3 separate regions of the Homo sapiens genome follow, and regions 2 and 3 are each linked to region 1. The links are contacts of gene promoters, found by promoter capture Hi-C in blood cells and fetal thymus (Javierre and others, 2016). All regions are on one chromosome and are shown on one strand. The core of a region is centred on a gene start or on the middle of the fragment in contact, and the rest is flanking DNA. Distances in the headings are between cores, read along the strand shown. Region 1 holds the start of SLC38A5 (solute carrier family 38 member 5). Region 2 has its middle 41 kb from the start of FAM156A. Region 3 has its middle 61 kb from the start of MIR8088.

Region 1 (3,783 bases), core at 1-2,500:
CTCAGAAACCCCCATTCAAGGTCCCCATTAGAGCTCAAACTGGCTCAGGAAATCCTTTTCCCAAGTCCTGAATCCCGTTCCTGGGACAGGGAGGGTCTCAAGGAGTCCCATCCCCCACCACCAGCACCCTCCGGAGCCTCCCACCCACACCTGAATTCACTTCCTGGGATCAGGGTACAAAAAGGACCTCCCCATACACGCCATTCCATTCCCCACTAGTGCTAAAATGTCTCCAAGGAACCCCGAGCCCCCTCCCAGGACCCCTACTCATATCTCAGGCCCCCAGGAACACCATCCCCGCAGCCCACGCTCCCTCCTCACCTACCTGCTCCTCTCAGCTCCTGAAGTGGCCGCAACTCAGACTCAGGTTCGGGCACCCTCTCGGCTGCCTAGGCTCCTGCTCTGGAGCGGTACTTTTTTTTTTTTCCTGAGAAGAAATGTTAATTTTAATTTCGTTTCCCTCCTTCTGGCCCTGGGCGGGGGAAGAGGTGGAGAAGGGGCGCCCCCTATCTGGACCCACTTGGAGGGAGACAGCGGTTTGTTTGTGTGTTGATGGTGGGGGAAATGGCCTGAAAGATTGAGGGTGTAGACCCACAGCTAGAGAGAGTGACAGGCAGACAGAGGGGATGGACTCACAGAGCAGACGGACAGCAGGATGGGATGGATGGCAGAAAAAGGTGCAGAGAGGAGACAGAGAGAGAGTAGGAGAACTGAAGTTACAAAGAAAGCAGGCATGAGAAACAGCACAGGAACAGACAGACCACAGAAGGGACAGAAAGACAGATGGGCGGGAGGAGGGGATGCTAGGGGAGCTTGGAAGACAGGCAGAGACAGGGAGAAAGGGACACACAGGCAGACTCAGAAACAAACAGGTGGGTAGGGATAGGCTCGTGGAAACACCTGCAGAAAGGCAACAGGCAATTGGGCTCAGTCATAGACAGGAGACACAGGCTGGCCAAGAGGTGGGGGACAGAGCCAGACAGCTCCCCAAACAGAGGGTAGGACCAGACACACCAGCTCAGAGAGATGAAGGGGCAGAGAGAGTGGTTGAGGCAGAGAGACTCCTGGAGGGACAGGAGAAAAGAGGCAGAGAGAGGCAGATTCAGGCAGAGAGGCCTGGGGACAGCAGGGGAACAGGTGCAGGGGTAGTAGCCAGGCTATTCCAGGCAGACCTCAGGCAGACAGCCTAGGCACGAGAGGACCCTAGATCTTGGGGGCCCCCAGAGGGAGGCAGGGAGGGCATTTGTGGCTGGGTGGGGAATGTGGACTGTGAACTCACACTGTCCGCAAACTGGGCGGGCACTGTAGTCCTGGACCCCACCCCAAGCGTGGGGTGGGGCTTGTCCAAGCCCTGAGAAGTCCCACTATCTGTCTGTCCGTCTGTCTTCTATGGGAGTCCGTCTGTTCACTCCCCTCCAGGCATATGACAGGCATGCCTGTCCCAGGCAAGCCACGTGTCCGCTACAGGATGTCAGGCAGGGTGGACTTGGGGTCTGGGACCACCTCGACTGGGCTGCTTGAAGCCCAGGTGGACAAGAGGCCTCTGTCTGGGCCCCTCGCCCGCCTGCCCACCCCCGACAGGGAACACAGAATTCCCGGAAAGGCCAGGAGCTGGCTGGGGCTTCAAAGCTGGCCTAGATGCCCTCACCCCACCCACAGTTGGAGGAGGACAAGGGATGGGGCGTTTACTTCCCCACAGCGGGAGAGAGACTCCTGCACACTCAGGAATCGCAGCTACACAACAGGACCCATCACAGCCCCATCAAGGGGCTCAGATACGGGGGCCAACTCGCCATCACTCACAGAGGTGCACAAAGACTCACAGCCACACAAGAGAATAAAGACTGACAGACATGAACACACACAGACTCACCACTGCACGTTAAGAGCAATGGCTCATGGGACAGTCACACACGTGGCCACACAGAGTGACGATAGTCTTACAGCTATCAATACCGACAGGCTCAGAGCCGCTCACAGAGAGCACAGACTAACACAGGGATAGGCTTGTGCCGATTTCCAGACACTCGAGACTCCTGAACCTCACCGCCCGTGGACCCACAGCCATGCCAAAGACAATCAACAGGCAAATCACACACACAGATTCACAGCCACACACAGAGCACACAATTACACACAGCTGATGACATTGTGTGTGGGTCCTGGGTCTTTCCCACACACACGATCCAGGTTCAGATGGCCCTGGATCTGAACCTGAATCCAGGTTCAGATGACCCTGGAGGCAAACTTCCAGGTTCAAGCCCTAAAATGATATCTCTGTGTATGTGAACTTGAATGTGCACTTGTGACCACATGTAACCACATACAGCTCCAGTCACAGAGAGAGGCACTCATAGGCTGACATGATTTTTGTACAAACAGAAAAGCCATAGTCTCCTTCTCTCTCTCTCTCCTCTCTCTCTCTCTCTCACACACACACACACACACAACTGCATTTCAGCAAATGGCTGCACACAGCCGTGTACACACACAGCTAGTCACAAATCAAGTCAGAAAAGAAACATATAGGGAAAGCATATACCTGCACACAAACACAAAGCACAGGAATGCAGAGTACGCTTACTATCGTTGCAAAGAAAAAATCCAGAAACCACACTGAAAGCTACACAAGGAAAAAACAAGAGAACCAGATAGTACTCATACCATGGCACCAGAAGAAACACCCCGAGGGCACACATACCTGCAGCCACTCGCTAAGAAGAGACACAAATACAGCAGCAGACACACAAAGAAAGATACGTGCGCATAGATACACATATAGGAGGGACAAGTACTCTGACACACTTGTCACCCACGACCATTACAAAGGAGACAAACACCCAAGCAACACACACACACAACAACATATAGATGAACTGCACCGACAGACAGTACCAATGCACACGGTTGCCAAAAAAAAAAAAAAAAAAAAGGTATGAGTTGGGCCGGGTGCAGTGGTTCATGCCTGTAATCCCAGCACTTTGGGAGGCCAAGGTGAGTGAATCATGAGGTCAGTAGTTCGAGACCAGCCTGGCCAACGTGGCGAAACCCCGTCTCTACTAAAAATACAAAAAAAATTAGCTGGGCGTGGTGGCGGGTTCCTGTAATCCCAGCTACTCGGGAGGCTGAGGCAAGAGAATTGCTTGAACCTGGAAGGCGGAGGTTGCAGTGAGCCAAGATCGCGCCACTGCACTCCGGCCCAAGCGACAGAGTGAGACTCCATCTCAAAAAAAAAAAAAAAAAAAAGCACAAGTTTGGCAGGCGGCCATAGACAGAACGCAGCACCAGGCAAGTTACATAGGAAGACGCAGGCACAGCTCACATACGTGTGGCTGTGGCTGAGAACGGGCAGGTGAGATACACTCAGCATATTCACACACACGTGCGCACACACTCCTGCCCAACCTCCTCCAGCCTCTGTCTCCTTTCCTATCTACTCTGATTTCTCTCTCCCCTCATACCCCTCCCCCACCCAGAGCCATTACACATCTGTGCTACCAGCTGGCCAGGGAAAGAGACACCTGTCACTAGAGGCTTTGACCCAGATGGCTAAAGGTCGGGGGGTGGGGGGGATGCAGGTATCCATATTTCAAGTCTGAAGTGTCCCGTCCAAATAACTAGCATACTTTATTTGGATTTAAAAAAAAAAAAAAAAGACAACCCCCCTCCCCTCTGCATCCATTCGCCGCCTCCCTGCCACAGCCTCCTGCTCTGATTGCTCCCCTTCCCTCCCAGGGCCTGCCTCTACTGGCCTTCCAACATGGACCAACACAGGGCTACCAG
Region 2 (4,678 bases), core at 820-3,319, 4.5 Mb after region 1:
CTCTCAGTGCTGAAAAAATTCTTTTTTTTTTTTTTTTTTTTTGAGACAGAGTCTTGCTCTGTCACCCAGGCTGTAGTGCAGTGGCACAATCACGGCTCACCGCAGCCTCAACCTCCTGGGCTCAAGCAATCCTCCTACCTCAGCCTCCCAAGTAGCTGGGACTATAGGTGCACGCCACCATGCCCAGCTGATTTTTTTGTTTTGGTTTTGGTTTCTTTGAGACAGAGTTTCCCTCTGTCACCGAGGCTGAGTGCAGTGGTGTGATCTCGGCTCACTGCAACCTCCACCTCCTGGGCTCAAGCGATTCTCATGCCTCAGCCTCCCGAGTAGCTGGGATTACAGGCATGCACCACCATGCCCGGCTAATTTTTGTATTTTTAGTAGAGACAGGGTTTCGCCAGGTTGGACAGGCTGGTCTCAAACTCCTAGCCTCAAGTGATCCACCTGCCTTGGCCTCTCAAAGTGCTGGGATTACAGGCATGAGCCACCATGCCCGGCCTGATTTTTTTTTATATGTTTTGTAAAGACAGGGTTTTGCCATGTTGCCCAAGCTGGTTTTGAACTCCTGGGCTCAAGCCATCTGCCTGCCTCGGCCTCCCAAAAGTGCTGGGATTACAGGCGTGAGCCACCATGCCTGGCCTGAAAAAAATTCTTTCAAGGGGGAAGAAGAGGTAGGAATCTCTACATTTGCTGGTGGACCTCATGCCAATGGATGAATCTGTGGTATTTCCCCACTCTTTACCTCATGCCACCACTTCCACAGGTAACGTGAGGATTGCATTCTCAACATCCATTACCAAGCAGGGTGTGCGACAGAGAGACAGAGAGGCAGACCTCCCACCAGTGAGTCAGTGATGGGGCCCTTGAGGCCCTGGGCAAACCTCTTCCTTTCCCCTTTCCTTGTCATCTCCCATTGACCCCGGCTGTGCCTGAGCCTTTCCCTGTCTCCTCCAGTGAGTCCAAGTTACAGCCAGTTCCTCCCTCTTCATGAGGACTGTGTGAGCACAGGCCCTACCCTCACTTGGCTTCAGCCTCCTCATCTGCAAATGGTGAGCTCCTCATTGGCAATTTGGCAGATTGAGTTAACATGGGTTACATGGGTTTGTCACAGGGGTCGGCCCTGAGCAAGGATGGGGTTAATGTCTGCAGACATTGTCATTAGTATTTGTACCACTGGCTCCTACATGCTACACTGAGGACTTGCCCTCCCTAAGGATAAGGATCCTATGTTTTCATCTCTCTGATACCAGGGCACCTTGTTCTACCCCTGTGAGAGAAAGGACCATCCTGCCTTCCTCACAAAAATATCCTGATATATGAGCAGCTCGGAGACCTAACCTTCTGGACAAAGACCTCCCACAAAAATGTTCAAAGATCTCATGCCTTAGGACAGTGCCCACAAGCAGTTCAGAGACCTCTCACCCTAGACACCAACCACCAAACAGCTCAAAGATGCCACACCTCAGGACACAGACCCCCAACCAGCTCAGAGAATTCCTACCTCAAGGTAACAGCTCACAATAACTCAAGGACCTCACACACCAACCCACAAAGAGCTTACCAGCTACACCCTGGTACACATACCCACAAAGAATCAGCTCAGGGCTGCTGTGTGATGCTGAATCTCTGTGCCATCCAACACTGTTATGGGGAGGCCTTGGATCTTGTAGTTCCCCACAGTCTGCAGTCACCACCGTTGTTGTCATGAGGAAGGCAGGTTCACACCAGGGATGGGGAAGGACCCTCTGGGACTGAGGGGATCAGAGAGTAAGCTCTCATATCTGGCTCCCAGGAATGGCCATCGTCTGACCAACCCTGATCACCTTTGGTCCTGGTGACTTTTGTATCTTGCCCCATGGGGGCTTCAGGGTAAATCCCAGAACACAGTAGGAGACCCCTAGACCCCGTTATCTTTGCCATCTCTCAGCACCCACTGTGGGGAACTGGATCTTGGAGAGAGAGTAGAGGTCCTCCCTTCACACTGCCAATGGCAACCCCCATTATGGCCCTTCTGAGCATTCTGGTCCTTTCTCCCAAACTTCCTCTCCAATTGGCAGCTGCCACACCTCCTCTCTCTCCCCAGCTCCCCACCCTTGTGAGCCACCAGGGCTCCCCTTCCACCACGGACCTCTACCTCCCTACCCCAGCCCTAGTCATGGGGCCTCAGTTATACCCTCTCACGCCCACTTCGGTCCTCTCACCCGGCACCTAGGCCTACCTCAGAGGACCCCCTCAGGACCCTCCCTGCACTTCCTGAAAGTGCAGACCATTTTGCAGGACAGATATCTCTCCTGCCCCCACACAGGTTTCTGTCACAACATCCCTGTTAGGGCAGAACTGGAAATGTCTCCCAGATCCAGATGAAACTCCAGACCCAGACTGAGAGTCCAGGGCAATTCGCCTAGGGCTGGAGGGGGCGGGGTGGGATTCCTGAAGGAGGCGCTGGGGTGAGTGTCACCTCAGGAGATGGGAGGACACTGCCCAGCTGGGTCTGTGAGGACAGAGAAGGGACCCTGGGAGGGACAGGGGCAGCATGAGCGCTGGGAGTGTCCCAACTGCGGTCCTCCGGGAATTGTCATCTGGCCCCAGCTCTGCCCCACCCTGGTTGGAGGGCCCCAGCCAGGGATCTGCCTTCTTGGCGCTCCAGTGTCCTCATCAGCGACAGAGGTGACAGGGCTTTCTTCCAAAGGTGCTAGTGGGGATTAAATGAGATGGCACATAAGAAAGAAGTGCTTGGGACACTGCAAGTCAGATCTGTGATGACCTAAAACTTAGAGCCCTGCGCACTGAGCGCCAGATGACCCCTTGCGAGTGGTCTCACTTAAGCCCTGCCTGTGACTTGGGAAGCATCTTTAGCCTCATACTGAACAACAGTCCAAGTCTTGAAGACTGGATCCCACTGGTCATCCAGTCCTTAAAGCCCAGGCTCCGCTTTACGAACTTCCGCCCATCAGCCACTGTGCCTGACCGTGCGCGAGCGCGAAGACCCAGGGACCCGGCTCTACGAGTGCATCCCGCTGTACTCTGTAAGAGCCGCACTCTCTAGGTGAGCTTCCCAGAGCGGTCCTTGATGCCTTCCTGCCTTGATCGTCCCACAACCGATCGACTGCCCCTTTGCAGGTTCCTAATTTATTCAGATCTGTAGAACGGAGACGGGCGTGGCCAAAAATGGGACTAGAGGGGTCTCCGAGAAGTCGGAGAATGGGTGTCAGCTTGGGCCTGGGTGGAAACCAGGAGGACGGATTGCCGCCTGGGGCGCTCGCCGCCGCGCCCGCCCTACTGTCGAAAGGTGGGGCTGATTTCGTTGGTGGGCGGGGGTGGGCTTTATTGTCCCTCCACACACAGCATTTGTATTCTTACAAAATAGAAGCTCCCTTCCCCTATGGTATCTCGCATAATGGTGTGTTCATTTCCGGTACCCGCAATGGTATGTTACATCCTCCACGCCTCATCCCCAGCTGCACACTCACAGGAGGTGAGATCCAAGAGGGGCCAGCTATTTCATACTTAGGTCCTGTGGATTACTCTAATGGTTCTCAAACTTTAGTGTGCATCAAGAATCACCTAGAGAGCTTGTTAAAACACAGATTGCTGGGCCTCACCTTTCAGAGTTTCTGATTCAGTGGGTCTGGGGAGGGGCCCAAGACTTTCATTTCTTTTTTTTCTTCTTCTTCTTTCTTTCTGTTTTTGCTTTTGAGATGGAGTCTCGCTCTGTTGCCCAGGCTGCAGTGCAGTGGCCGAACTCGGCTCACTGCAACCTCCACCTCCCAGGTCAAGTGATTCTCATGCCCCAGCCTCCGGAGTAGCTGAGACTACAGGCGCACACCACCACACCCGGCTAATTTTTGTATTTTTAGTATTTTTAGTAGGGACGGGGTTTTACCATGTTGGCCAGGCTGGTCTAGAACTCCTGACCTCAGGTGATCCGCCCGCCTCAGCCTCCCAAAGTGCTGGGATTACAGGCATGAGCCACTGCACTCGGCCAAGACTGCATTTCTAACTGTGCCCAGCCACTCTTCCACACAGCTAAGTAGACTTTTATTCCCACCTTCCTCCACTGTATTACTAGTAGACCAGCCCTTCCCCATCTTTTTCTCCCTCTCTCCCCAACAACACACCCAGATAAAGTCTTATCACCAGACCCTGAAGATCTTAAAGGGAGCAAAGGTCTAAGCATCGAGTCCACTGCCACAGAGCTCCTGCCCCATGAGTGGTGTGACTATGCCAGTCAACAAACTTTTCTTCTCCTGCACCACTGATGAATAACATCAGAGCAGCATCTATCAAAATGAAAAATCCTTATATGTAAGCCCTTAGAATGTTACATCCATGAGGGCAGGGGCATTTTCCTATCCAGTTTCCTCAGTCTCTCCAGTGCCCACCACACAGCAGGCACTCACTGCATGGTTGTTGAATGGCTGAACTCTTTTTCCCTAGCAATTCCACTTAAAAGAATGTATAATGAAGAAACATACACATAGCACAGAGCTTAGTATACAAGGAAGATAGTAGCAAACAATCAGGGAAAACCTCTAAATGTCCATTCATAGTCAGTGATCACTGGATGGTAAATGAACAATGAGAGACTTGTATTATATCAGGGAGCAGTCACTGGCCACGGAACAGAATGAGGGGACCAGACTATACTGGTCAAAGGAATCTTCTTCAGGACACGCTC
Region 3 (4,678 bases), core at 1,263-3,762, 3.8 Mb after region 1:
ATTGACTATATCTCGTTAATTGCCTATGAGATAGATGAAAGTATAGATGTGGTAGTTGTTTGCAGGAGTTACGTTTATGTTCATAGGTCTGTATTAACTTCCTAAATTTTTGCTTCTTGTATTCCTGAAATGACTGAGTTTGAAATAATTCCAATTGCTGCAAATAGTTGTGGTGGTTTTCTTAGATGATATTTATCTAGTGAAGGTAAATTTGGTAAAATGAACTGCTTGTCATATCCTTGTCCCTCAAATTACATAACTTGTGGTTTGATGTATGTGACTTTAAGTTCTTTTTTGAAAAATATTTTGACTCTCCTAGGTGCTGGTTTGTAAATTAATCTTAATGGGTTAATTAGGATAGGTTCAACTAAATTTGGTTTTCATAATTTAGATAGAGGGTTTGTTATTCCTTTGGTACACTGTGGTGTCCAGTGGTGTGTTCCTAAGCAATGTGTCAGTCCAGCATCCTCTGCGAATTATGCATGGCCCAAGGTTCTGGGGTTTAACATAGCATTTTGCAAAAGAGATATCTCTAGCTACAAATACAGGTAAGTGGGAGTCTAGTTTGGCTATATTTTGATAAATAGGATGTTGGACTGACCATATAACTTTATTCTATGATCCATCAAATGGCTGAATCATGAAGAAAAAGTAATTTGACATACCTGAGTCTATTTTTGTGACTTTATCCATATTTATTTTGGTTCCTAGTGTTTCCCACCAGTTAATTGACTTAAATTGTGTATTGTTTCTATCTACATCTTCAAAATTAAAGTTTACATCATCCTGAATTACCAGTGGATACATTGTAAAAATAACTTGATTTTGTATATACTTAGTTTTCCTGGTAAATTTGTCTAATATAGTTATGTCTCTTGGTTCATTTCCTGTAAAGAATGTGCCAATAACCTCTGCTGTTTTGTAGGTCAGTGTGAATGGTCCAAGTACTAAGAGTGAGTTAGATAATAGCAGATTGTATATATCTGGTCTGTGAGTAGATGTGAATATTAATTGTTCCCATTTTGTTTGTTGTAATTTATCAAAAATAACTGTTTCTAATGTCCAGTTTCTAATGTCCATGGGTTTCTAGAAGATGTCGACATCCAGCAATCAGTAAATTTAGTAGGGATTTTCTATGTCATTGTATCTATTGTGATGACTGGGAACTAGTGTGGTTTTTGTGGTTGTGTCCAACATAAGCCTGCTTTGGTTTCTGTCACATTCCACCATAGAGTGGACTTTCCAGTTATGATAACATATCTGTCTACATTCTCTATAAACTCTTTGCTTATTGTGTAAAGGTAGTTTTGATATATTGTAGCCAAGTTTGCCATTTAATGTTGTAAATTTAGCATGTGTTTTATTATGCCAAAGTCTGAATTGTGCTGTGTCTGTTGGTTTGTTTTGTTTTGTAAAGCCTGTTGATCTTGGAACGTGTAACCATGTTAGTAAGCAACTTATAGTGTAGAATGGGCAAGGATAAGGTTTTCATCCGTGGGATAATGAAATGTAGCTTTAATATATGTAAAGTTAAGGTTAAAGCATATTAATGTTGGTTGTCCCTCAAAATGTATATCTTGTTGGGTAGTGTTGATTCTATTTTTTATCTTTATAAGTTCCTTATTTGTGGAGGGCAAGTATAAGTATACTTGTATTCAAGACAAGCTTTATCTACATACATTGTTTTAGTGTGTGTTTCAAAGGTAGTGTGTGTAAAGTGATAGTCAGCATTAGTTAAGATTACTGGGTGTCATCTATGTTTTCAATATAATTCTGCCAGTGAGAATTTTTTAGCCTTATTAAAGAATTGTTACTCCAGCTCTCTTTTGTCTAATAAAAAGAAAAAAGAAGAATTGTGAGACTGTCAAATAATTTTGGCTTTTTGCGTAATAATCATAAGATGAACAGGGTGGGTGAAGGCAAAATTTCCAAAAAACAGCAAGTTAGGAAAGTTAATTAGATGATAGTTATAGTATGTCTTATCCTCTTCTGTTGTTATTATATCATAATCTAATGGATATCCTAGTGGCATTGACACTTTTTCCTGTGGGGGTCTGATATATGGGTGTAAGATGAAGTGGTTGGTTTTGTAGCTATATTTAGTCTTGTGTCATCCCTTGAATCTACTTCATAATCATAATGTTCATTTCCTTCAAGTCCAGATTGGTACCAGAATTCATACCAACTATTAACAAATGACTTGTAGGAGTGTCGTATCATATCCAAGCATGTCATGTGAGATCTTCCAACATATGGTTCTATCTGTGGTACTATGATTGGGGATTGGTATGATATAGCGCTTCTTATGTAATGAACTGTTTTGATTGGCATGTCTGTTTCTATTAGCATTTCTCTACCTATTATGTGAGCCATCCATGGTTTGAGATGTTATTGAATGCTTCATTGTAGCTGCATAAGTTGGGGTGTCACATTTAGTCATGTCATTTATGCATTCTTCTAAAGTATGTTTAGGAATATGCGCAAAGATTCTATAAAGATACAATGATTGGAAGTGTGTGTAAAAGCTAAAAGCTCTTCAGGCATTGCTTTGGGTCAAATGAATATGAACAAAATAGTCTAATTGAAGCTCTAAGTATTCTTTTATCAGTCCCTTGACTTTCTAACAATTGTTCAAAAATGATATATTTTCATGAAGTATATATTGCGGAATTTGTTCTGGTAATCGTGTGATTTTAGGTGCTGTATGAGTTGGCACTGTTGGATATGTATGTGTTTGAGGCTCAGAAATTTTAATGGTTACTTTAGGAATAAACAGTAGTAGCAGTAGTAGTAGTAGTAGTAGTAGTAGTAGTAGTAGTAGTAGTAGTATCTGTTATTTCCCTTCTATATCTCCTAACATATTTTAAGCTATTTGCATCAATCTTATGTTTGCTATTAATTATCAGATGTATAGGCATTAAATATAGCACTGAAAACAAACTAAGATATAATAATCTATGTCATCCTAATATTTCTCTAAGTAGTATAGTCAAAGATTGCTTCCAGTAGTAGTATTGCTGCTGGGTTAGGTTGGGGTAGAACAAAGTAAGGTAGTTCTATGGGGTCTGTCCTCTCTTATTAAGCAGTTTAGCAATGCAACTTATATAATAGGTTAGTAGCCAAGCAAGACTTATGCAGTCATTGGGGTGTACACTTTCAACTAAACCTTCAATAGCTCCTAATGCTGCAGTTAGTTCATAAACGTAAGGAGCAGGAAGGTGGCAGTGGCGCCTAGATTCTACAAAGTCTGGTCTGAAATTCCAGTCCATGCCTGCCTGTATGGGCCAGTCTGCTTGAGCTAATTCCTGAAGGAAATCTGGTGAAGGGGCTCTGAAAGCTATAGGTGGCGAACATGAGGCTGAAGCTTAAAAGGAAGGAGGGCAAGGCGGGATATACATGGATGATGGAGATCCTGGAGAGGCTAAGTCCATATGCTGGGGATGCATTATAGCTGTCAGTCTGCAAATTATTAATCAAATAATATACTTAACAAGCAGATAGTGAAATTTGTAATTTTTCTGCTGTGAGGGGTGTGTGTGCTTGTGTTAGTTTGATTTATCTGGTTACAGTCTCCCTGGTGGCAATATAAGTAATAACAAGGCAGTAAAGTTACTATGATGGCTAATATGAGGTGAATGAGAAAGTTGATAAGACCAGTTGAGAAGCTACACAAATTTGTAGCCATCTTGATGTCCTAAGTGAGTAAAGTATTTAATTATTCCAGTGATAGCTAGGAGTGATGTTGAAGTTAAAAATATTAGATTAGTGGTAAGCAAAATTGGATTGAAGTACACCTTCACTTATTCTCGTGGATAATATTAATGCAATGACTAGAATAAAGCATTGTAAAGAGAGATTGGAGATTTTGTCTAATTCTAACTCTCCTGTTTCCTGTAGTCTAACATGTGTTTCCGTGTCCATGGGCCACAGTGTCCTGTTGGGAGATAGTGTTGTTATTTAGTCTAGTGCTCACCTTGTAAGGTATAATATTTGTATCATATTCTTCCTTATCTTTTGTGACAGTTAAGTTTGGGTGATTAAGATAAGAATGGAGGCTGCTCTTATAGTCTTTCTCTTTGATTTAAGTTGAAACATGCCAGGTTAAGAGCTTGTTGAAATGTACTCATTTGGTCTAAGGCTTTCCATTCTCTTTTTATTAGCCATTAAATCTTTCTATATATCCCACTGCTGTAAGATTGCAAGGTAGGTAAAAATTTAATTATATATCCCATTGGTCCACCAATGCTTGTGTGGTCCTTGATGTAAAATGAGTTGCTTGATCACTTTCAATCATTTTGGGGGCTCCATAGTGAGCCGCCCAAATTTCTAAGGCTGAGATATTATATTTGGCAAATGAGTGGCTAGCTGCTGTTGCTATGCCAATCCCTTTATATATATCCACCATTGTAACTGCATATTTTTGTTAGTAGGAGCGATTTAATGGTTCTATAAAATTTACCTGTAAGCAGAAATTAAAGATGTCAGATTTGTATGTATATTGGTTTAGTATATTTATATTTGTCCAGATTAGTTTTACATTATTCACAATTACCTGTAGCCTTTTTAATTTGATGTCATGTCACCTTTTGATTTCTGACAGCCACTTGTACAGTGAGTGTGTGCCTAAATGTCCTTTCTGCTTACGTAATTGTAGGAGCATTTGTGGAATGTAAGCTGC

Evidence for each region. The method cuts DNA at HindIII sites, captures the fragments that hold promoters and counts their contacts. A CHiCAGO score of 5 or more calls a contact.
Region 2: a contact is called between a fragment that was not itself captured here and the fragment with the promoter of SLC38A5 in region 1, in 1 of 17 cell types (monocytes). The highest score is 5.6, in monocytes.
Region 3: a contact is called between a fragment that was not itself captured here and the fragment with the promoter of SLC38A5 in region 1, in 1 of 17 cell types (neutrophils). The highest score is 5.9, in neutrophils.

What each region holds. Positions count from the first base shown.
Region 1 is chrX:48,469,010-48,472,792 of GRCh38, forward strand. SLC38A5 (solute carrier family 38 member 5) reads right to left here and starts at 1,251. Exons shown (of 17, transcript NM_033518.4): 1 at 1,173-1,251; 2 at 326-427. The HindIII fragment of the contact is 10,592 bases long and covers 1-3,783 here.
Region 2 is chrX:52,997,601-53,002,278 of GRCh38, forward strand. No RefSeq gene overlaps it. Among named protein-coding and RNA genes, the nearest start is that of FAM156A, 41 kb to the left of the region's middle. The HindIII fragment of the contact is 8,235 bases long and covers 1-4,678 here.
Region 3 is chrX:52,273,177-52,277,854 of GRCh38, forward strand. No RefSeq gene overlaps it. Among named protein-coding and RNA genes, the nearest start is that of MIR8088, 61 kb to the right of the region's middle. The HindIII fragment of the contact is 1,699 bases long and covers 1,664-3,362 here.